Regions from separate parts of the Homo sapiens genome. Here all the other regions are linked to region 1. The links are contacts of gene promoters, found by promoter capture Hi-C in blood cells and fetal thymus (Javierre and others, 2016). All regions are on one chromosome and are shown on one strand. The core of a region is centred on a gene start or on the middle of the fragment in contact, and the rest is flanking DNA. Distances in the headings are between cores, read along the strand shown.

Evidence for each region. Contacts are between HindIII fragments. The CHiCAGO score rates a contact against its expected background, and 5 or more counts as called.
Region 2: a contact is called between a fragment that was not itself captured here and the fragment with the promoter of SMC3 in region 1, in 1 of 17 cell types (fetal thymus). The highest score is 6.7, in fetal thymus.
Region 3: a contact is called between a fragment that was not itself captured here and the fragment with the promoter of SMC3 in region 1, in 2 of 17 cell types (naive CD8 T cells and total CD8 T cells). The highest score is 5.3, in naive CD8 T cells.
Region 4: a fragment that was not itself captured here is called in contact with the fragment with the promoter of SMC3 in region 1 in 1 of 17 cell types (total B cells); the score reaches 5.1 in total B cells.
Region 5: a contact is called between a fragment that was not itself captured here and the fragment with the promoter of SMC3 in region 1, in 7 of 17 cell types (total CD8 T cells, fetal thymus, non-activated CD4 T cells and 4 more). The highest score is 9.4, in total CD8 T cells.
Region 6: a fragment that was not itself captured here is called in contact with the fragment with the promoter of SMC3 in region 1 in 2 of 17 cell types (total CD4 T cells and total CD8 T cells); the score reaches 5.9 in total CD4 T cells.

What each region holds. Positions count from the first base shown.
Region 1 is chr10:110,565,991-110,569,419 of GRCh38, forward strand. It overlaps SMC3 (structural maintenance of chromosomes 3), which reads left to right and starts at 1,705. Exons shown (of 29, transcript NM_005445.4): 1 at 1,705-1,841; 2 at 2,948-3,023. The coding sequence starts at 1,827. LOC105378483 (a long non-coding RNA gene) reads right to left here and starts at 1,318. Exons shown (of 2, transcript XR_946318.2): 1 at 1,043-1,318. RefSeq lists enhancers at 8-710, 1,525-1,574, 1,585-1,684 and a silencer at 2,025-2,314. The HindIII fragment of the contact is 2,181 bases long and covers 1,508-3,429 here.
Region 2 is chr10:109,876,343-109,879,771 of GRCh38, forward strand. XPNPEP1 (X-prolyl aminopeptidase 1) reads right to left here. Exons shown (of 21, transcript NM_020383.4): 13 at 1,658-1,716; 14 at 1,448-1,525. Among named protein-coding and RNA genes, the nearest start is that of XPNPEP1, 45 kb to the right of the region's middle. The HindIII fragment of the contact is 6,015 bases long and covers 1-3,429 here.
Region 3 is chr10:109,895,497-109,898,925 of GRCh38, forward strand. All of the region lies in intron 3 of XPNPEP1 (X-prolyl aminopeptidase 1), which reads right to left. Among named protein-coding and RNA genes, the nearest start is that of XPNPEP1, 26 kb to the right of the region's middle. The HindIII fragment of the contact is 577 bases long and covers 1,255-1,831 here.
Region 4 is chr10:109,995,714-109,999,142 of GRCh38, forward strand. All of the region lies in intron 2 of ADD3-AS1 (ADD3 antisense RNA 1), which reads right to left. It also overlaps a transcript of ADD3 not described here. Among named protein-coding and RNA genes, the nearest start is that of ADD3, 11 kb to the right of the region's middle. The HindIII fragment of the contact is 669 bases long and covers 1,252-1,920 here.
Region 5 is chr10:110,013,648-110,017,076 of GRCh38, forward strand. All of the region lies in intron 1 of ADD3 (adducin 3), which reads left to right. Among named protein-coding and RNA genes, the nearest start is that of ADD3-AS1, 7.0 kb to the left of the region's middle. RefSeq lists enhancers at 252-311, 732-1,537. The HindIII fragment of the contact is 3,260 bases long and covers 34-3,293 here.
Region 6 is chr10:110,030,512-110,033,940 of GRCh38, forward strand. All of the region lies in intron 1 of ADD3 (adducin 3), which reads left to right. Among named protein-coding and RNA genes, the nearest start is that of ADD3-AS1, 24 kb to the left of the region's middle. RefSeq lists a silencer at 1,640-1,934. The HindIII fragment of the contact is 5,269 bases long and covers 1-3,429 here.

The DNA.
Region 1 (3,429 bases), core at 455-2,954:
AACCACCATACCTGTCCTAAGCTTTAAATAATACAACTAAAATCTAGAAGTAAAATGTTTAGATTGAGTGCAGTGGCTCATTCCTGTAATCCCAGCATTTAGGGAGGCAGAGGTGGGAGGATCGCTTGAGGCCAGAAGTTAGAGACCAGCCTGGGCAACATAAGGAGACCTGGTCTCTACAAAAACAAAAAAAAGCTGGGCTTGGTGGCCACAGCCTGTAGGCTGAGGTGGGAGGATGGCTTGAACCCAGGAGTTTGAGGCTGCAGTGAACCATGACCGAGCCACTATGCTCCAGCTCCACCCTGGGTGACAGAGCAAGATCCTGTCAAAAAAAAAAAAAAAAGTTAGAAATAAAGAAAAGAAAATGCTTACATATTTATTTAATTTATTTTGAGACAGTCTCGCTCTGTTGCCCAGGCTGGAGTGCAGTGGCGCGATCTTGGCTCACTGCAACCTCTGCCTCCTGGATTCAAGCAATTCTCCTGCCCCAGCCTCCCGACTAACTGGGATTACAGGCACCCGCCACGACGCCCAGCTAATTTTTGTATTTCGAGTAGAGACGGGGGTTTCGCCATGCTGGCCAGGCTGGTCTTGAACTCGTGACCTCAGGTGATCCTCCCCCCTCAGCCTCCCAAAGTGCTGGGATTACACGCTTGAGCCACTCGACCAGGCCTATTTATTTTTTTAAACCAAGGGCTGGATAGGATTTGATCCGGGCTCCAGATAAAGGACTCCTAGGGAGATACCCTGGTTAGCAGAGGCAGTTAGGAGGCTACTAAAAATAGTTCAATCTAGAAATAATTAGGGCCAGAATTGTCTCCAGCAGCGGGCGGGGGTGGGGCTGGGGATGATTTGGGTAGTTATTTTGTTCTCTTCCCAGCAAGTAATTTCAGAGCAGCCCAGAGATTCATTTTCTAAACAAATGATGTTTTTCTCCCAAGACTGACAAGGATCAGACAGACCTAGGGTTGCCACTAGCACCTAGTATCTTTCAGGCTGTTTTCTTTTGTTTTTAAAGTGGATTAAAAGCTTTCAGCCTTACCTAAATCTTTGTTGCAATTGTACAGATCTGCCTAGATTTATAGCAGATGGTAGAACAGAAACAGTTCCCGACGGAATTAATCATCACATTATTAAAACAAATTTTCGAGCATTGACAAATCCCTTCGGGGTTGTCCTCCGAGTGGGCAATTCGTAACCAGCTTGGGGCGTGCTAAGATTGTAAACGTTCCTATGGAGAGCGATAACAAAGGGGCAGCAGTGACTCCGCACACAGAATTCCAAGAATCACCAGCATTCCATGTGTTCCAAGGCTAGCACAGTGCGCGCGAGGTCCGCTTTTTTAAACAGCGCGGAATCACGTGGCCGACAGCCCGCGGCGCTACTGGCCCTCGGAGTCTCCCTCTTGGCTTTGGCGCGGAACCTTTCCCCCTTTGTGGACGCGACCATTGGCCCCGCGCTCGGAGGTGGTACGGACCAACCCTACGGTCATAGATTTTCCGAGTGAAGCTTTTGACTAAGTCTCAGGAAAGCGTTAGCTACAGAATTCTAGATTCAAAAGAAATCCACCAAAAAACGCTGTGGAGGACTGGTTTTGCCTAAAAGAAAGAGCAGACCTGAACTTGACTCCTCCTACGCCCTGTGAAGGCTGCAAGGTGGTTCCGTCCGAGGCGCGGACTCCGCCCCCACGAGCGCCGCCATTTTGTTTGGCTGAGGGGAGCGAGCGGCGCTTTGGGGGAGGGGTCGCGTAGGCGCCTCACCTGACCCTGCGGCCGTGCGGTTGCTGCTCCGGGGCAGGTCTCCTTCCAGGCCAGGGGCCCGGAATCATGTACATAAAGCAGGTAAGGCCTTCGCGTCCCTCCACCCCGTCATGGGCCGGTAAGGGCCGCTCCTTGAGGCGGGAGTGTTGCGGCGCCACCCGCAGCCTCTCCCCTGTCTCCACAGGCTGGACCAGGGCTGGGCGGGGACTGTGGGGGAGGAGGGAGACCCGGGTCCCGCTAGTGCCCCGGCTGCGGGGTCGCGGAGAATTGGGGCACTCCTTTGCAGCCCCGGCCTCCCTGCTGGCGCTTGTCTGGGAGAGGCAGGATCTCCGAGAGGTGTGGAAGGGCCGGCGGGCGGGCCGCTGGGAGGGACTGGGCCTTCCTGGGTGGCCCCAGAGCTGGCGGGGGGCACCCCGCCGGGGCGGCCGCGGGCGGGAAGGGCTGTGTGGTCCTGCAGGGGTGGCCTCACACGGCCCATGTGCCTGGGATGTGTGGAAAGGTGGCTTCCCCGGCCCGGGGGCGGCCCTGGGGGCATTGGCTGGGGTGTCGTCACCTGTCACTGCGGGGAGCCGTTCTTCTCCCCAGTTAACCCGCGAAGTGAGCGGGACCCTCCTGCTTGCAGGATACGGAGCGCCGCCTCCCTCGGTTGTTTACTTCTGTCAAAATGGTCTTCCCGCGCGGGACTCCACCACAAAGATGAGCCCAGGCACACGGCCTTGGAGACGGTTTTCTGTTGGGTCTGTCGGGCTCTGAGCACTCCTTCTTTGGAACGTGGGTTCTTTCAGGCTGGCCGGCGTGAGTGACTGAAAGCAGCACTCGGTGGTCTTGGAGTCAGGAGAGCTGGGGCCCGTCGGCCTGCTTTTATAGACTTGCTATTGTACTGCAGCGTTTAGGGTTCAGTTAAGCTCACACAGTGTTTTTGATTTTGAAAGGTCCTTAACAGGTTGACAGCATAACTCCTAAAAAAAAATAAAACCCAGCAGCATTGCCTTGGCAAAGATTACCGATAAAAGTACCTTTTTTTTTTTTTAGCAGATTTTTAATCACCACTTTCCAAAATGAATTTTTCTTATATGAAATTTCGAGTTTTCTATATTGCATTAAATGAAAAACAAGAAAGAAATGCAAGAGAAAAATGTTAATTTTTTTTGTGGGGTGGGTTCTCAAAAATGTTTTTTATTTACTAGGTGATTATCCAGGGTTTTCGAAGTTACAGAGATCAAACAATTGTAGATCCCTTCAGTTCAAAACATAATGTGATTGGTAAGTGTTCTTGGTTTACTCGGTCATATTTATAGTCTATACAGATAATGTAAATTCTGTCCATTTCTATATTGGCTTAAGGAGACAGGAATTGTCTTTGAATATTAAGTTATATTTTTCTGCGTGAAATAACTTTTCTGTCTTATTGCACTGATGAATTGCTTATTTTTATAAACTTAAAATGTTTGGATAAGACACTCATAAGTTATCCATTTTTTATCTAGGTAGCCTTGTATGTGTGTGTAAGAGTGTTTTAAAGCATTTCCGCTCTTCTGTTCTTGTTATATATCCTAGTGAAAATGCTGACTGTTGCCTTATTTCAGAGACAGACAATTTTTATTCACAAAGTAGATGCCAGGATTCCCCCCCCACCCCGGCAGTCAGTGTCTCTAAGGACAGACCATGT
Region 2 (3,429 bases), core at 669-3,168, 690 kb before region 1:
CAGCAATAAGGGCACCAGTCCACACACAAGCTGAACAACTAAAAAAGACAACCAGTACCTCCAGAACCCCGCCTCTAAACAGGCTTCCAACCACCCACAATGAAGAAATGCCAACGCAGAGGCAAATTTCTTCCACTGGCATGAAACTGTTTAATGTTTTAATTATACGGAAAATTCTAGGATAGTATCCAGCCAGGAAATTCATCCTGAGTTAAACAAAAACTGAAGTCCCTCTGATATTTTTATGCTGGAACAGAAGCATTAAGTGAGGAAACTGTACTGTCCCATCTGTGACTGTCTCCCACACACAGCTTCAAAATCTGCCCCAAGACTAAAAGCTCTAAAAACAATTATTAAAAGGGGGAAAAAAGTGTGTGCCCAAGCACAGTGTTCTTTTGTTGGCTGTGCATGTAACAGATGGGGATGCACAGAACTCAAAATACCCAGTGCAAAGCAAAGCGGTTTGAACCAGGCAGAGCTGAGGCTGAAGCCCAATGGCCACACCTAATGACATTTCCCCCCATCTCCACAGGAAGATCTGTCAGTCCTAGACATATCAGTGCCCCTCTGTCTCACAAGGAAGGGAGGCTCGGCCCTGTGGGTCCATGGGTTCTTGTAGACCACGTGGTAAAAAAACCACATACTGGGATGCCAGGCTTCAGGCTCAGGGGGACAGGAAGAGAGGGTACTGATTATCTCTCCACCCAAAACAGGTTGCCTCACAACCTACTACTAAGTTTTTTTTTGGTATGGAACTGATGGAGCTCACAAGATGTATGGACTAGTACAAAACAGCTGCTGTTACCAAGAAAGAAAACTACTCAAAAATTCCAGTCATGGGCCAAGCACAGTGGCTCACACCTGTAATTCCAGCACTTTAGGAGGCTGAGGCAGGAGGATTGCTTGAGTCCAGAAATTCGAGACAAGCCTGGGCAACACATCAAGATCCTCATCTCTACAAAAAAATCTAAAAATTAGCCAGGAGTGGTAGCACATGCCTATAGTCCCAGCTACTCAGGAGGCTGAGGCAGGAGGATTGCTTGAGTCTAGGAGTTCAAAGTTGCAGTGAGTTGTGATGGCACCACTGCGCTCCAGCCTGGGCAGCAGAGCAAGACCTTGTCTCCAAAAAAAAAAAAACTTAGTCATCAAGATGCAAGGGCTATGCATACAGTTCCTGCAGCTTCAAAAAGGAAAGAGGGACACCCATCTGACTACCCTGCAGAGAATGCCAGTGCCATACTGAGCCTAAGAAGAGGCTCCCAAAAGGCAGAGGCTTGGGGATTGGGAGAAAATAAAATCTTAGAAGTCTTATTTCCCTTCATTTTACAGTCTCAACAGACAGATGAAGGTGGGCACAGAGGCCTCTGGTAAAATAATGTCTCTCCCCTGCTCAGGCTCCTGTGCAGAAGCAGCAAGGCCAGGCAGCATGCTCCTCCGCATGCCTTACGCGTAGTGAATGATGGCGCCGTTGGGTCCCGTACTGGAAATTGTTGGGAAGCTCAGGTCCACAAAGTCTGCCTGTTGCCTGTAACAGAAAGACAGAAAGCAGAGTGGCTTAAAGGTTTTTACTGTGCTAAGATTCAGGGCCCTTCCAGCCTCATTCAACTAGCAAGAAAATCAGCACGAGGCTCCTGGGTCCCCCCAAATGGATCCTTACCTGCGAAACTCCTCAGCTTTGTCAGCAGCTGAGATCTCTGTCACACCACCTTTGGGAACCTATGAGAAAATTGCTTATAAATCATCTGGTGAGATAAATTCATGTGTGCCTCTTACAAATTAGAGGAGGTACATTAAAAGCTCACTTTTTCCTCAATTGCTTCATCCCAACTGACCAATCTACAGGACACATCTTTAGCAAGGGAGAACTCCCAAAGGCTCTCACCAAAGCTATCTAAAATCCAATAGTTTCTATTCATTTAATTTTTCACTCAACTATTGTGCTTCAGTATTTTATCCTAAAACCTCCCAAAACAACATATCTAAGTTTAAAAATTCAAAAGCATCCCCTCCTAAGAAATCATCGTAAGAAAATCATTCTAGAGAAATAAAAAAGATAAATGCGGAGAGATTATTGCAGGATTACTGATAACAGCAAAAAATTAAAAACAACCCAAACATTTAAAAATAGGAGGACTGGGTTAGTAAATCAGAAGAGCCACTAGATGCAGTTTTCATTTGGATCCTTTTTTAAGGCCTCAATGTACATGGAAAATGTTCACACTATGATTCTAAGAGAATAAAATAAAACACAAAATCATATCTAAGCCAGGTGTGATGGCTCACACCTATAATCCTAGCACTTTGGGAGGCCAAGATAGGTGGATCGCTTGAGCCCAGGAGTTTCAGATCAGCCTGGGCAACATGGCAAAACCTTATCTCTACAAAAAAATCAGAAAAAATCAGGTGGGCTGTAGTCCCAACTAATCGGGAGGCTGAGGTGGGAGGATCACCTGAGCTTGGGGAGGCTGAGGCTGCAGTGAGCTGTGATCACACCACTACTCTCCAGCCTGTGCAACAGATGAGACCCCATCTCAAAATAAGAAAAAAAAAAAGAAAAAAAATTTATCTGCACACTAAGAGACATGTAAAAATAATTTATATTTTTAAAAATAATTTACGGCCAGGCACGGTGGCTCACGCCTGTAATCCCAGCACTTTGGGAGGCCGAGGCGGGCGGATCACAAGGTCAGGAGATCGAGACCATCCTGGCTAACACAGTGAAACCCCGTCTCTACTAAAAATACAAAAAATTAGCCAAGCATGGTGGCGGGCGCCTGTAGTCCCAGCTAGTCGGGAGGCTGAGGCAGGAGAATGGCGTGAACCCAGGAGACGGAGCTTGCAGTGAGCCGAGATCGCTCCACTGCACTCCAGCCTGGGCGATGGAGCAAGGCTCTGTCTCAAAAATAAAAAAAAATAATAAAAATGTAATAATAATAATTTACATAAAGTCCAGGCATGGTGGCTCATGCCTGTAATCCCAGCACTTTGGGAGGCCGAGGTGGGTGGATCACAAGGTCAGGAGTTCAAGACCAGCCTGGCCAAGATGGTGAAACCCCATCTCTACTACAACTACGAAAATTAGCCAGGCGCAGTGGCAGGCGCCTATAATCCCAGCTACTTGGGAGGCTAAGGCAGGAGAATCTCTTGAACCTGGGCAGCAGAGGTTGCAGTGAGCCGAGATCACACCACTGCACTCCAGCCTGGGTGACAGAGTGAGACTCCGTCTCAAAAAATAAAATAAAATAAAATAATAATAATAATTTACATAGATGAACAATCACCAGAAGGAAACATGAGGGAAAAAGTTACACTAGTGGGAATAAAGACAATATTTTCTTTTCCCAATTAAAGAGTTGTTTATACAATACTTAAAGGGAACATGATATTGTTTAATAACACCACAGAGAAACCACCCTCTTGTCAACTAGA
Region 3 (3,429 bases), core at 293-2,792, 670 kb before region 1:
GTCCAGACATGACCTAAGTGGTCAACATTCCAGAAAGACATTGCTAAGCAAGGCTGGCCACAGCCTCACCTCCACACTGACAGGCTATGCAGAAGCCAGACAAGCACTGGGCCCAGGGCTGTCACTCTCCTTCTCCCAGGCATGAAGCTGGCAACGCCCAGGGGCGGTCTCCTTAGAACACAGCATAGGGCCTAAAATAAACCAAAGCTGTAGCATGCTAGGAAAAAGGCACAAAGAAGCACAGCTGCTGGCTTTTTCTCAAAACCACCCACTTCTCTCCATTTCTAATAGCAGCACTCAGTCCAAGCCTCCATCATCTCTACCTGGACTACCGCCCCTACAATCCACTCTGCACATACACTCAGAGTGAGCTTTTCCAAATATCTAAGATCATGTTAGCAACCTCCTTAAAACCCTCCAATGGCTTCCTATTATATTTAAGATAAAATCCAAACTCTGGCCCAGTCAAGGTACCAGCTGATCTGACTTTGCCAGTCCTCTTGCAGCTCTGCTCCCATTCACCATGCTCCAGACACACCCACCTCCTTTCTGCTCTTTGCATATCCTGAGCTCATTCCTGCCTCAAGGCCTTGGCACATGTGCTTCCTTGTGCCTATAAAAGTATTTCTGATCATGGTATGGCTAGGTCCTTCTCATCATTACATTTGAGATCAAATATCACCTCTACAGAGAGGCCTACCTGTACTACCCAGCTATAATAGCCACCTGGCCACTTTTAAGTCTCTGTATAGCACACACATACTCTAGATATTTGTCTTTTTTTTTTTTTTTTTCTTTTGGAGACAGGATCGCCTTCTGTTACCCTAGCTAGAGTGTGGTGACACAATTATGGCTCATTGTATCCTTGACCTGTCAGGTTCAAGCAATCCTCCCACCTCAATCTTCTCAATAGCTGGGACTACAGCAGGCACACACCTTTTTTTTTTTTTTTTTTGTAGAAACGGGGTTTTACCACGTTGCCAGGCTGGCCTTGAACTTCTGGGCTCAAGTGATCAGCCTGCCTCAGCCTCCCAAAGTGCTAGGATTACAGGCAAGAGCCACCATGCTGGGCAATGTTTCTCTTCTTAATGAACTTTTTATATGTTTATTGTCTTGTTCCTCAACCCCCATCTTAACCCCAAGCATATAAGTTCCATGAGATCAGGGTATCTGTCCTGTCCCTGCACTCAGCACAGGTGACTAGATCCTCAACCCACATTTGTATTATAAATGAACAAGCAGAAAGAGACATGAAGCTTTTCCCTACATCCAGTTAAAACCTCAACCATATCTACGAAGATGGACGAAGGGACCATGAGCCAAGGAATGCAGGTGGCCTCCAGAAACTGGAAAAGGCAAGGAAATGGACTCTCCCTGGAGCCTGCAGAAGTAACATAGCCCTGCTGACCCATTTTAGACTTCAGACTTCCAGAACCATAAGAGAATAAATTTGTTTTAAGTCACTGTGGTAATTTGTTATAGCAGTGATAGGAAACTAATACATTATCTAATGGGGAAAAGATCGTAAGGGATTATAAATGGGGTTTCAAATTCAAATACCTCAGGGTACAGGACAAAGGATATCTTTTCTAAAGACAGCAGCTCCTACTCAGCTCTGATTTCTGAAATGCAGGCCACATGTTGCTAACCTTCAATATTTCAGAAGAAGCCAGAAATATGGGTTCATGAGAAATTACCCAATTTTTAAATGTTGGCATCTAATTCCAACAATATAAACAATACATAGCCAAATAAAGCATCTGTAAACTACAAAAAAAAAAAAAGCTAGTCATCTCTCAAAAATCTGGTTCAAGTGCTCCCTTTTCCATGAAGCTTCCTGACCCACTTCAGCTTTCAGAGGCTCCCACATTTCTGAATTTTACAGGACCATCCATGTTGGCACTTATCCATACCCTACCTTGGATAATGCTGACAAATAATGTTAGCTAAGATTATTTAGTCTGTATTGTTTATTATTGTCTCAACACCTACTAGTCAATAACTGTATTCATTTCCTCTCATTCTAATCCTCACAGCAGCCCTGGAAGGTATCATCCCTCGCTAATCTACAGATGAAAAAAATGAAGCTTAGAGAAATAACTAACTTCCCCAAGGTAACACCACAGTAAATGGCAGAACCAAGATCTGAACTCAGGTCTGACTTTTTTTTTTTTTAAGATGGGGTCTTGCTTTGTCGCCTGGGCTGGAGTGCAGTGGCGCAATCTAGGCTCACTACAACCTCCACCTCCCAGGTTCACGCGATTCTCATGCCTCAGTCTCCCAAGTAGCTGGGATTACAGGCGCCCACCACCACACCCAGCTAATTTTGGTATTTTTAGTAGAGACAGGGTTTTGCCATGTTGGTCAGGCTGGTCTCGAACTCCTGACCTCAAGTGATCCGCCTGCCTCGACCTCCCAAAGTGCTGGGATTATGGACATGAGCCACTGCACCCAGCCTCAGGTCTGACTTTCGAAAGCCCATACCCTTGCAAGCTGCCAAGCAACCTCTTCTACTTTTGTACAGAAGTTGTACACATCTAGTCTCACAATTGGATTATAAATTCTGAGGGAACAAGGAATACGAGGTGTATGCTGCACTTACCTCTACTTTCATCAGCCACAGAATAGACATCTCCTACAACCAGCAGTTAGAACTCTGTTCAAGCCTGGTTCCCCACTTACTAGCTGGGTGAACCTGGGGCTCAACTTCCTCATCTGTAAAATGGGGATGAACATAATGCCCACCTTGAAGGGTTGAGGTGTGACATAAAGCAATTAGCGCATGCCGAACATCTGATGAACTGCAGCACTTATTGCTATGAACTGCACCGAGCTTGACTCTATAGCAAACATAAGAAACTATCTTCTCGAAGTGGACAATCGGCAATAGTAGACAGATATTCCATGAAATATTAACACTAATAAACAGCCATATAAACGATGCTGAACATGCAGTGTGGTATTTGCTATAGTTTAAAGGATGCTCAGATGTGCCTTAGATCCATCAGACCAAGCTCAGAGGTTTGACTGGGCCACCAAGGATAGGCGAAGAGAGCAGGAAAACAGTCCAGAGGGAAAGGTGTGACAAGGCCCAGAAGCAAGAGGCAAGAGGCCTGTCATGAGGCGACACCCAATTAGCCTAATGGCAGGGGCAAGAAGTTCAAGGGAGCAGCTGCAGAGATTTCTGTAAAGGCCGTCTGAAGACAAATAGTCAAAGACCTCAAACACCAGACTAAGAGGCTTGAACTTTATCCTGCAAGTTCTAGAGAGACACTAAAAGTTGAAGAGAGGGTGGTGACATGACCAGAGCTGGGTTTTAAGAAGAGGGATCAACATGGCTGGTCACATGCCGATGGAACTTGCCAAGTAAAGCTGACAGCTGACTGCCAAGATAAGCATGACTAAAGTTACTAGAGTCCACATTAGCGT
Region 4 (3,429 bases), core at 336-2,835, 570 kb before region 1:
TGATTTGGCCACTCTTGGATTTCTTAGCTCAGAATTCTGAACACACATTCAGGTGCATCTGCCATGTAGGATCATTCTCAGGATATGCACATGTCAAGTTATCACTGTCAGGTGTGTCTAACATTACCTGGATTCAAAACCCAACCACTGCTATTTACCTGCTCTTTGATCTTGGGCAAATTACTTAACCTCTCAGTGCCTTAGTTCCACTGTTTCTAAACAGGTATATTAGGGCAATACCTCATGGAGGTGTATTAAATGAAACAACCTACATTAAAAAGCACTTAACACAGTACCTGGCACATAGTGAGTGCTCAGCAAATGTTAGTAATACTATTATGTTTTAATAAGAATGGTGATTTTTCTCCACCCCCATTTGAAATGAAAATGATTGGCCATGCAGAATCAATATTGTTTTATATCCAGATTTTGTTATGTTTAATTTTCACAAATACCAACCGCTATTAAAAATAAAAAATATTAACTAGACTGGTTTTTACAACTTGATCTCTATTTATACTGTATATAATCTGCAAGTGATTAGATTTCATTTTTATTACTCTTGTTAAACTACAACATGCTTCGTTATCTCTCCCTGGGTGTGGCTTACACCCAGAACTCCTGCTGGCTTTGTTCAGTATGCTTTCTGTTGTTACTTTAGTTTCAGTAATCATTGTGAATGAGACTGTGAGAAACTTGGCTTGTTCAGAAGATACTGTGCATAAGACATGAGGTAAGTCATTAATTTCTTAGCGTTTTAAAGAGTCATAAGTCTTTTCAAAAATGGGGGAAGGAGGAAGGTCAACAAATGACTAGGATTTAACTCAAATGATTAAAAGGACAGGATGTTCCTCTTTTTCCCCTGGGGCCAGAGAAGGAAATGAGAACTAAATTTAATGTTATGAATTCTCATGTTCATAAATTAATGTCTTAGGTTTATGTGTCCTAGTAATTATGCCCTGCTTTGGAAAGCCTTGCTCTGAAAGTTTAGTCTGAAGGTAGAAACTCAGTATCTGGGAGGGCTTAGTAGAAACTATGAAATAAAAGTGTAGACAGTTTGCAGCAAGGTATTTAAATCATGCGTTAAACTTTCCTTCCTACCTCAGTGGTGTGACTGATGTCAAGCCATGGAGCTCTTCACTCTCTTCGGCCTCAATGAATTGTGCTGTTCAGGTTCTGCTATCATACATTTACACTTTAGTGAGAATTTAGGTTAATGTGTTACTACTCCCAGGAAGGATTTGTTTTGAAAGCTTTACCTCTAACTATAGATCACAAGGTTTTTATTGCTATGCCATAGATTATATTTCAAGCAACTGAGGTCACTCTAACTTAAGCAAAGCAGGAATTTATTGGAAGAATAAGGCACAGAGCTCACAGAATTGAAGAGAAAGCTGAAGAATAGGGTCTTGTAAAGACAGGAGCTAAGTGGGTTTTATGAGGTCTTCGTAGCAGTATCTAATCTCATTTTCTTCTAGGACCTCCTTTAGGTGGAATTCTAATCTTAAGTCTTTGTGTTATTACTCAAGATTCAAATGCTAGGAAGAGATTATCTGTTTGATTCAGCATGGGGTCAGCCCCTATCTCAGAAGAGGGTGGGGTGCCAAGCTGCAGCAATGAGGTAAAAAAAGGCTCCAAAGGAATATTGGGGCACCCTTACTGGAAAAGGCAAGGAATGCTGTGCAAACAAAAACAAACATTTACTATAATCAACAAGTAAAGGAATTTCACAGACCTGTAAATAGGGATACTTTGGAGATATAGTCAGAGAAGGCTGTTGCTGCCCTTGAAATCCCTGCACTTAGGTAGCCATTTTTCTTCACATGATGAATCCTTCTGAAGGACCCCTTCACAATGACAGTCTATAAGTCAAACGAGACAGAAGGGACTCTAGGATTCTTTCGCTGCTTTTCTCTCAAAAGCTTTTAAATCACACCGTATGATTTGACTATATTTGGGAATGCCATTGAATTCTTAAAGCCATGCTTTGTGGTCTTTTACACAGATGCCACTGAAATGTAGTTTCTAAGGCAAATATTTGAAAGAACACTGATACATCTAAACTTGTAGTCCACTGCACACCTACAGTGCTGGCTAAATGTGCAGCTTCCAGAGTGCAACATCAGACCTACTACAGAAGAGTTTTGATGGGGAAGGGTTAAGATGGGGGCTGATGCTAACTTTTAATAACGATCTAAATCCGGGCGGTTTTCATGTACACTTAAATTTGAGAACTACTGAACCAGTCTCAACAAATCCTAATATTTATTGGGTATATACTCTGTGACCATCAATGTTCTAGACTCTAGACTGTACTAGGGATACAACAATGAACACGATAAAGTTCTTGCTCTTTTGAAGATTCCTATGGGGAGGAAATTAATGATAAATAAGTACAACAAAATTAATTAACAAAATAATTATAAAGTGGAGTTTGTACTCTGAAGAGAAGAAAGAGGGTAATCTCAAACTTAGCAGAAGGGCTCGCTTTTATCTGTTATACTACTTCTTCTCAAGTCTTCTCTGTCTCAGGTAATGGTACTACCATCCATCAAGACACTAAGGTCAAAGGCTTTGGAGATCACTCTGGATTGAGTCCTCTCTTTCTCTCCTTTTCTGCACTCAACTCATGTACTCCATCAGCAAGTCTCCAAAATATACCCAAGATCTTTCACTTCTCTTCTCCACAGCTACCCCTACAACAAGACCCCATTTCCTCTTGTCAGGATGACTTTAATGGCTTCCTAACTAGCTTCCCAGTCTCTAGTCACATCTCTCTAGTGTTCATTCTGCACATAGCAGCCAGGAAATTCCAAAAATGCAAATGAGACTGTAGCCTTCCTTTGCTTAAAACCTTCTGAAAGTCAAACTCCTCACCATGATCTGCCAGACCCACATGATCCAGCCCCCACCTAGCTCTCCTGTCTTGGGCCTCTCTCCTTCAGTCACAGTGTTTGACCACCATGCCTTTCCCTCAATCTCTCAATCATACCAAACTTGTTCCTGCCTCATGACCTTTGAACTTACTTGTCTCTCCAGCTGCCGACTACAGATCATTCAGGTCTCAGCTCAAATGTCACCTCCTCAAAGACACCTTCTTCATCCATCCTAACTAAAGCAGTACCCCTCCCCCACCCTAGTCATTGTCAATGGCCTATTTTACTTTCTTCTTAGCCTTTAGCATCTGAAATTACCTTATTTATTGATTTGTTTACATGTTAACATCTGTTGTTTTCCCAGTACAATAAAAGCTTCATGAGTACAGGGATTTTTGTTCATTTTGTTCACTACTTTGTCTCTACCACCCAGAACAGTGCCTGGCACATAGCAGGAGTTCAACAAATACTGTTGCCTTAATGAGTGAAAATAACTGAGTGAATTAATGGACAGTGACTGGAAGTGTGGCAACTTAAACAAGCTCTCAGTAAA
Region 5 (3,429 bases), core at 414-2,913, 550 kb before region 1:
ACTCCAAGTAATATACACGAAATTATTTTTTTAAGCTTCCATACCTCTTTAAATTTATTCTTGTGATTTCTTACTTTCCCCTCCCTCACCAAAGGAAGTGCTCACCTTTTCAGATGGAATGAAAGAGGAGAGTGCTGATGTGAGTGACTCAGCCTGTTTAACTCTGCCTCTGTGGTGGTTTGTTGGTTACCTACTAGAGGAGGTGGAACTCAAACAATGTAAAAGCAATCAGGTTGGAGAAGTGCTGAGTTTTTAGTGTCATGGGAACTCGGTGTATGTCTTTGTCACCATTAGCAGTGTTTCTGTGCAGTTCTTCCACAATGGCTCAGCTCATCCTGAGCAAGGACAGCATTTCTGTTTTCCTTTTCCATTCAATATTCTCATCCTATCATCTTTTGATTTGCTAGAATGACTAAATGCTAGAGCAGAAAGTTGGGTTTACTCATCCTCCTGAAGAAGATAGTTAGGCTTACTTGGTATATCTAAGGAAGTAAATTTGGAAGTCAAGGCCTCCCCAGGGACTTCTAAGAACACTCCACTTTTACGCCCTAGGAAGTTAGAGTGAGCAACTGTTAGCTGCATCGTGACTTCTGTTCTCATTTGTCTTAATACATGACAAAAAAATTCTAGAAGGTCAGCCTTTTAATATCTAAGGAGGTGGTTGGAAAATGGCAATGGTCAGAGCTCAAATGGAGTTGTGATTGGGCATAAGTGCCTTGGATGAGTGGAATGCTTCATTGCCTGAGCTGCACAAATGGGAGGTAGAAAGGGATTTGCAATGAAGTTGATGCATTGTTCGTATTCCTTATTTCCACAGCCAACTTTTTAAAGGTGAAAACAGTGTACCTCTTACCTTGCCTTTCTTTTACAGTTTTTTTATTTTTATTTTTTTTGAGACAGAGTTTTTTACTCTTGTTGCCCAGGCTGGAGTGCAATGGCGCAATTCTCAGCTCACCGCAACATCTACCTCCTGGGCTCAAGGGATTCTCCTGCCTCAGCCTTCCTGAGTATCTGGGATTACAGGCATACGCCACCACGCCCGGCTAATTTTGTATTTTTAGTAGAGATGGGGTTTCTCCATGTTGGTCAGGCTGGTCTCGAACTCCCAACCTCAGGTGATCCACCCGCCTCGGCCTCCCAAAGTGCTGGGATTACAGGTGTGAGCCACCGCGTCCAGCCTTCTTTTACAGTTTTTATTGTCAGAGTTGAGTTCACTTTCCTAAGGGAAGGTAGAATTTTTTTTTTGAGACGGAGTCTCGCACTGTTGCCAGGCTGGAGTGCAGTGGCGTGATCTCGGCTCAATGCAACCTCCGACTCCCTGGTTCAAGTGATTCTGCTGCCTCAGCTTCCCGAGTAGCTGGGTTTACAGGCATGGGCCACCACGCCTGGCTAATTTTTTGTATTTTTAGTAGAGATGGGGTTTCACCATGTTGGCCAGGATGGGAAGGTAGAATTTTTAAGGTGAATTCTATCTGATTGCTTAACATTTTAGCTTTAAATTGGAGATTGCACTAAAAGGAATTTTTTTCTTTCTCCACAACTGTCTGCTTGTTAAATTTCGAATAAAGATTTTCAAAATAGAAGTGTGACAAACCTTACTCAACATTTAATAATTGGGAGCTATTATTTATTAAAGTACACATTATCAATGAATTAGAAATTCATTGCTTTAAAAATACTTGTTTTTTGAAAAACTAGAGCTGCACTAATTTTCATATTAGAATGTTTGATTTTTTTTTTTTTTTTGAGATGGAGTCTCGCTCTGTCGCCCAGGCTGGAGTGCAGTGGCCTGATCTCGGCTCACTGCAAGCTCCGCCTCCTGGGTTCATGCCATTCTCCTGCCTCAGCCTCCCAAGCAGCTGGAACTACAAGCACCCACCACCATGCTCGGCTAATTTTTTATATTTTAGTGGAGACAGGGTTTTACCATGTTAGCCCGGATGGTCTCGATCTCCTGACCTCGTGATCCGTCCGCCTCGGCCTCCCAAAGTTCTGGGATTACAGGTGTGAGCCACTGCGCCTGGCAGAATGTTTGATTTTTTTTTTAAGTGGACATCAAATTTATTTTCAGTTAAAAATGCTGAAAGTAATACATTTTTACTTCATCTGTCATAGTGAATGTTGATAATGATAAAATCTTATTTCTCTAAGCACTTTGCCATAGCTAAATACCTTAGTAAAACATGCGATAGACAAGGGTCCGGTCACTAGCCACAGAAAGGCTGTCACTGTTATAGCAGAATGTAATAGGGAAGGAACATTTTATGCCTCAATAAGAACAGTGTATTTGCTTGAGATAGTAATAACCTCTGAGAAGCTGATTAATTGGTAATCACTTAAGTTAGATGATTTTATATTGTTTGATGTCTTATAATCTAAACGTCCCTGTGCTCTTTTAGAGTGTCTGCCTTGACCAGTCAGCATTTCAGGAGGGATTGTGACTGTCAGTTAAGTGCTTTGAAGAGAGAACCCCTGCTTTGTGTCACACCTGAATGTAACAGGACATACTTCTTGGGGCTGTTTAATTTGGGCTCAAAGGGAAGAGTGCCATCTACTGAATGGCCAGCATCAAGTTGAGCAGCTCCTGTTTTCCTTACAGAACTCAGCCAGTTCCTGGAGAAACCAGGCCCAGCTTCATTTGGAGGATTTGACAGGATCTTAGTACCAAGTGGAATTGTTGCCTGCTTAATTTTAATTATGCTTCCCAGCAGGAGGCCTAAACACATGATGAAGAACTAATTCAGTACTTGTTGGAATGCATGGGAAAAGAGAAACCTGAAGAAGTTGTTGAGCCTTATGTTAAAAACAGCCGAGTAGTGGTGAAATTAAATTAAGTGGTAAAGAAAATTATTTTAATGAGAGCAGTCTTTCAATAGCAGGTCTGGTTGGTTATTGATGGCTCCTGCAGACAATAATGATGTTAAAATCTGCTTGGGCTTAGAATCAGCAAACAAATCATTTGCCTAACTGGAGGTAAGGGTTTTAAGAATACTTGAATACTTCGATTGTTTTTTTCTCCTGCCCTTTTTGTCTCATTTTGTAAGGCAATGATTCCTACTTGAGTGAATTCACTGTTTCAAAGTAGATTTTGTTGTTGTTTTGGTGTATGGTAGTGGTTTCCTGGTTTTTGTTTGTTTTTTCTTTCCCTATTTTCCAAAAACTTACTGTGGTAGCAGCCATGGGTAGAACTGGAGGTAGTAGAACTAGTTACAGGTCAGTGGAGGTTTAAGGTATCTGGAATAGGCTTGTCAAAGCCAGACAAGAAGGAACTTTGAAAATATGAATTGAAAGGAAGCTTTGAAATTGTTGCTATAAAAATACACTTGATTGTTACATATTTATATATATTATATGTAATTACTTAATTAGTAATCATTTTTGTTAGCCTTTAAAACCTGCCAAGGATCATTTTAAGCACTTCACATAAAT
Region 6 (3,429 bases), core at 474-2,973, 540 kb before region 1:
TTGTGAGATGATTTTAGGTGGCATGGATCTAGGCTAACCTGTGAAATGGGTATTAGGGTAGATTCTTTGGAATGGGCCCAGGCTTGGTGCCAGAATTATAGAGTTCCACTGACATTATGGTAACCACTAGCTGTGTGTGGCTGTTTATCGCTTGAAATGTGGCTAGTCCTAATTGAGATGTGCTGCAATTATAAAAATATACAGATTTCAAAGACCTAGTACAAGAAAAAGAACATAAAATAACTTTTTTTAATATATTGATTACATTGGCTACAGCTATTCCAGCTGACTTGGCTCGTCCAATTTGTATTACAGTGCTGTTTTGAGAGCTATTGCCTACAAGCAACCTCTACTCCTTCTCTAACTCTCCCATTGATGAAGTTTAAAAAACGAAACCAAACCACTTGCTCCACCCACTATCTTTAATGGTTGGTGACTCCTGACCAGCTTCTTGAAAACAGGTGATAAAAATAAATTTGTAAGTCCAGGCACGGTGGCTCACGCCTGTAATCCCAGCACTTTGGGAGACCGAGGCAGGTGGATCACCTGAGGTCGGGAGTTCGAGACCAGCTGACTAACATGAGGAAACACTGTCTCTACTAAAACTACAAAATTAGCTGGGCGTTGTGGCGCATGCCTGTAGTCCTAGCTACTCGGGAGACTGAGGCAGGAGAATCCCTTGAACCCGGAGGGGGAGGTTGCAGTGAGCTGAGATTGTGCCATTGCACTCCAGCCTGGGCAACAAGAGCAAAACTCTGTCCCTCAAAAAATCAAAATAAAAAATAAATTTATGGCTACTATCCATTGGGCACCTGCCATGTGCAAGGTACAGTGCTAGGTACTTTAGGTAAAATCATGAATCCTCACATCAGTTCCACCGGATTTATATTCTAAATTACGAAGAAACAGATTCAGATACATTGTGACTTTGCTCTGGGTAAGTGGCAACTAGTAGGTGGCAGAATGGAATTCCAACCTAAGCCAGCCTGGTTCTAGAACCAGTGTTCTTTCAGCTGTATTATACTCCCCTATGTTTTCATTTCCATGTGTGTCCTTTAACATGAAGCGGAGTACTGTTTATAAAGGAGTTTCTTGGCAAATGGTGTTGACTGATCAGTACTTAGGATCCTTAAGTTGTTTTCCTTTGTCTTGGTGGATGACTTTAATGCGCCACCCTCCTACCCTATCTGGTACCTAGTGAGTGGCCTAGATGTTAATGAAGAGACATGAGCTATTTTTTTTTTTTAAGTAACTTTTAAAAATTGACAAAAGTTACATGTATGTATTATCTAAAACATGATTTGGAATACGTATACATTTAGAACATAAGGTTTTAGAATATGATTTATGAGAATGCATAAATCAGTCTAATTGACATATGTATTACCTCAATACTTTTTTTTTTTTGTGATAACATTTAAAGTTTCCCCTCTTAGCAACTTCAAAGAGATTTAATCTTATTGGCAGCCAGTTGAACGGTATAGATCAAGCCTATGACTTTCTCACCTGGAAAATCAGTCACAAAAAATGTTTCAGATGCCTTCAGGAAGAGATACAAGAAGAGTCTCCTTTGCTAAATGCCAGGAATATCAAATCTTGGACTTCAGAGACTGGCCATATAAGGAAAGAGATTTTTATAGACAAAGAGGGTTGAAGTAAAATAATGGGATAGAATAAGCATATTAAGCTGGATAAGTGTTATGTAATCCTAGGTCATCTCTTAATGGCCATGTCCTTGACATTGTTGCATTAAGAATGAGAGCTCGGAGAAATAGTCCATGTGTTGGCATGCTAGTCTCTAAGTTAGAATAGATGTGATCACAAATCATGAGTGCTCTTAAAGGGTGGATCCTGCATTCACTCATCCACTTCTGCCTTCATTCAGGCTCAAGCAAGTGGTGGTGACTTTGGAAAGATAAGGAGAGAAAAGGAAGGACAAAAAAGGAAAAAGGGAGTAAAACCAGACTGGGGAAGTGGGCAGCAGGGATACTTGGGCAAATTCAGAGTGCATAGTATTTGTACATGTACATGCATATTGTATTTATAATACTAAGAGCTATGTAAACTGTAAAATACTATTTCAGGAAAGAGTATAGTATGCTAGAAAGAGAATTTCTGACTAGGTGGTGTGGATTCAGCTTTCTCAGCTCTACCATTACCCTAAGTGTGTAACCTTATGAAAGTGTTAGAATCTGAAATAATCGCTATTCTATTAATACTTCTCTGGCTTTCCTTCCTGATTAAGATCATGCTAAGTTTGAAAACACTTTGTGCGTGCTCATATGCTGTATACATGTTGTTATTGTTTTTATACTGTTAATTATTTCTCTTCATCTAAAGTATTGCCTACCAGAAACTTTATCGAGAGGAAAAAATTTGTACCCAAGAACACACACATTATGATTAAGAGAAGTTAGAGTTAAATTAAATAGCCAATTTAAATAGAGCCAATTTGGCTCTCATCCCTAGGCTTTATAAAAGAGACAGTGGCAGCCTTGTGGGTGAGGGGAATGTGGACCTAATTACTCATTTAATTTAATCATTCATCCCTTTAACTCCTTTAAAACCTGACTTTTATAGGTCGATTATATAATGTGTGTGAGCACAGTGTTTCTCTTTGAATGAAAAACCCTGTTGAATGGCTTTACAAAAAGAAGATTTTGATATATTCATAGTAATAAACTTGGTTTGCATTTCTCTGAGGCTTATGGTCTTCAACTTCTGACCAAGTTAGTGAAGGGCTGCTATAACTACCAGATGGCAGTCTTTTCTGATCCAGTGTTAGATGCCAACAGACTAATAGCAGAATAGATGTAAGCAGAATTCAAGCACAGCATTTGAAGTATTGTTTAAATTGGTCATCTAGCAAATTTAATATAAAGAGGATAAAGAGAATATGTTCATGTCGCCATACAATTGTTTGGTTCTCAGGGCAGTCCCAGAATGCATCTTTAGTTTGTGTTCCATGTAAAATGCAGGGTACAGGGATATTTTGCCAAGTGCTGGTTTGAAATTTACTTGGGATCCATCCAGCTGGCAGATCAGCTGTGCTAATCAGATGGGCCCGTTTCTGGGGAATGGGATTTCATAGAGGGAGCAGTGTTCTTGAAGTATAGTTACTTAAAAACCAGTTAATTTTTAATTTAAAAATTCTCATAAGTGCTATATTAAAATGTATATAGTGCAAGTATTATGTATATAGTGCAAATACTTTGTGCATTCTTGTAAATAATAAATAGGGACAATAAAGTCATTGTGCTATACTCAGCTGCCTTTAATTTCTATTTTGAATCTCTGGGACCGTAATTTGCTAGTTGCCTGCAGTGTTTATTAGGATTAACTCATCTGCATTTCCCACTAATGTAGATCATTAGTTCTAAGAGATTTCTCAGGATAAATAGTGCCAAATATGTTTGGGAAACTACTTTC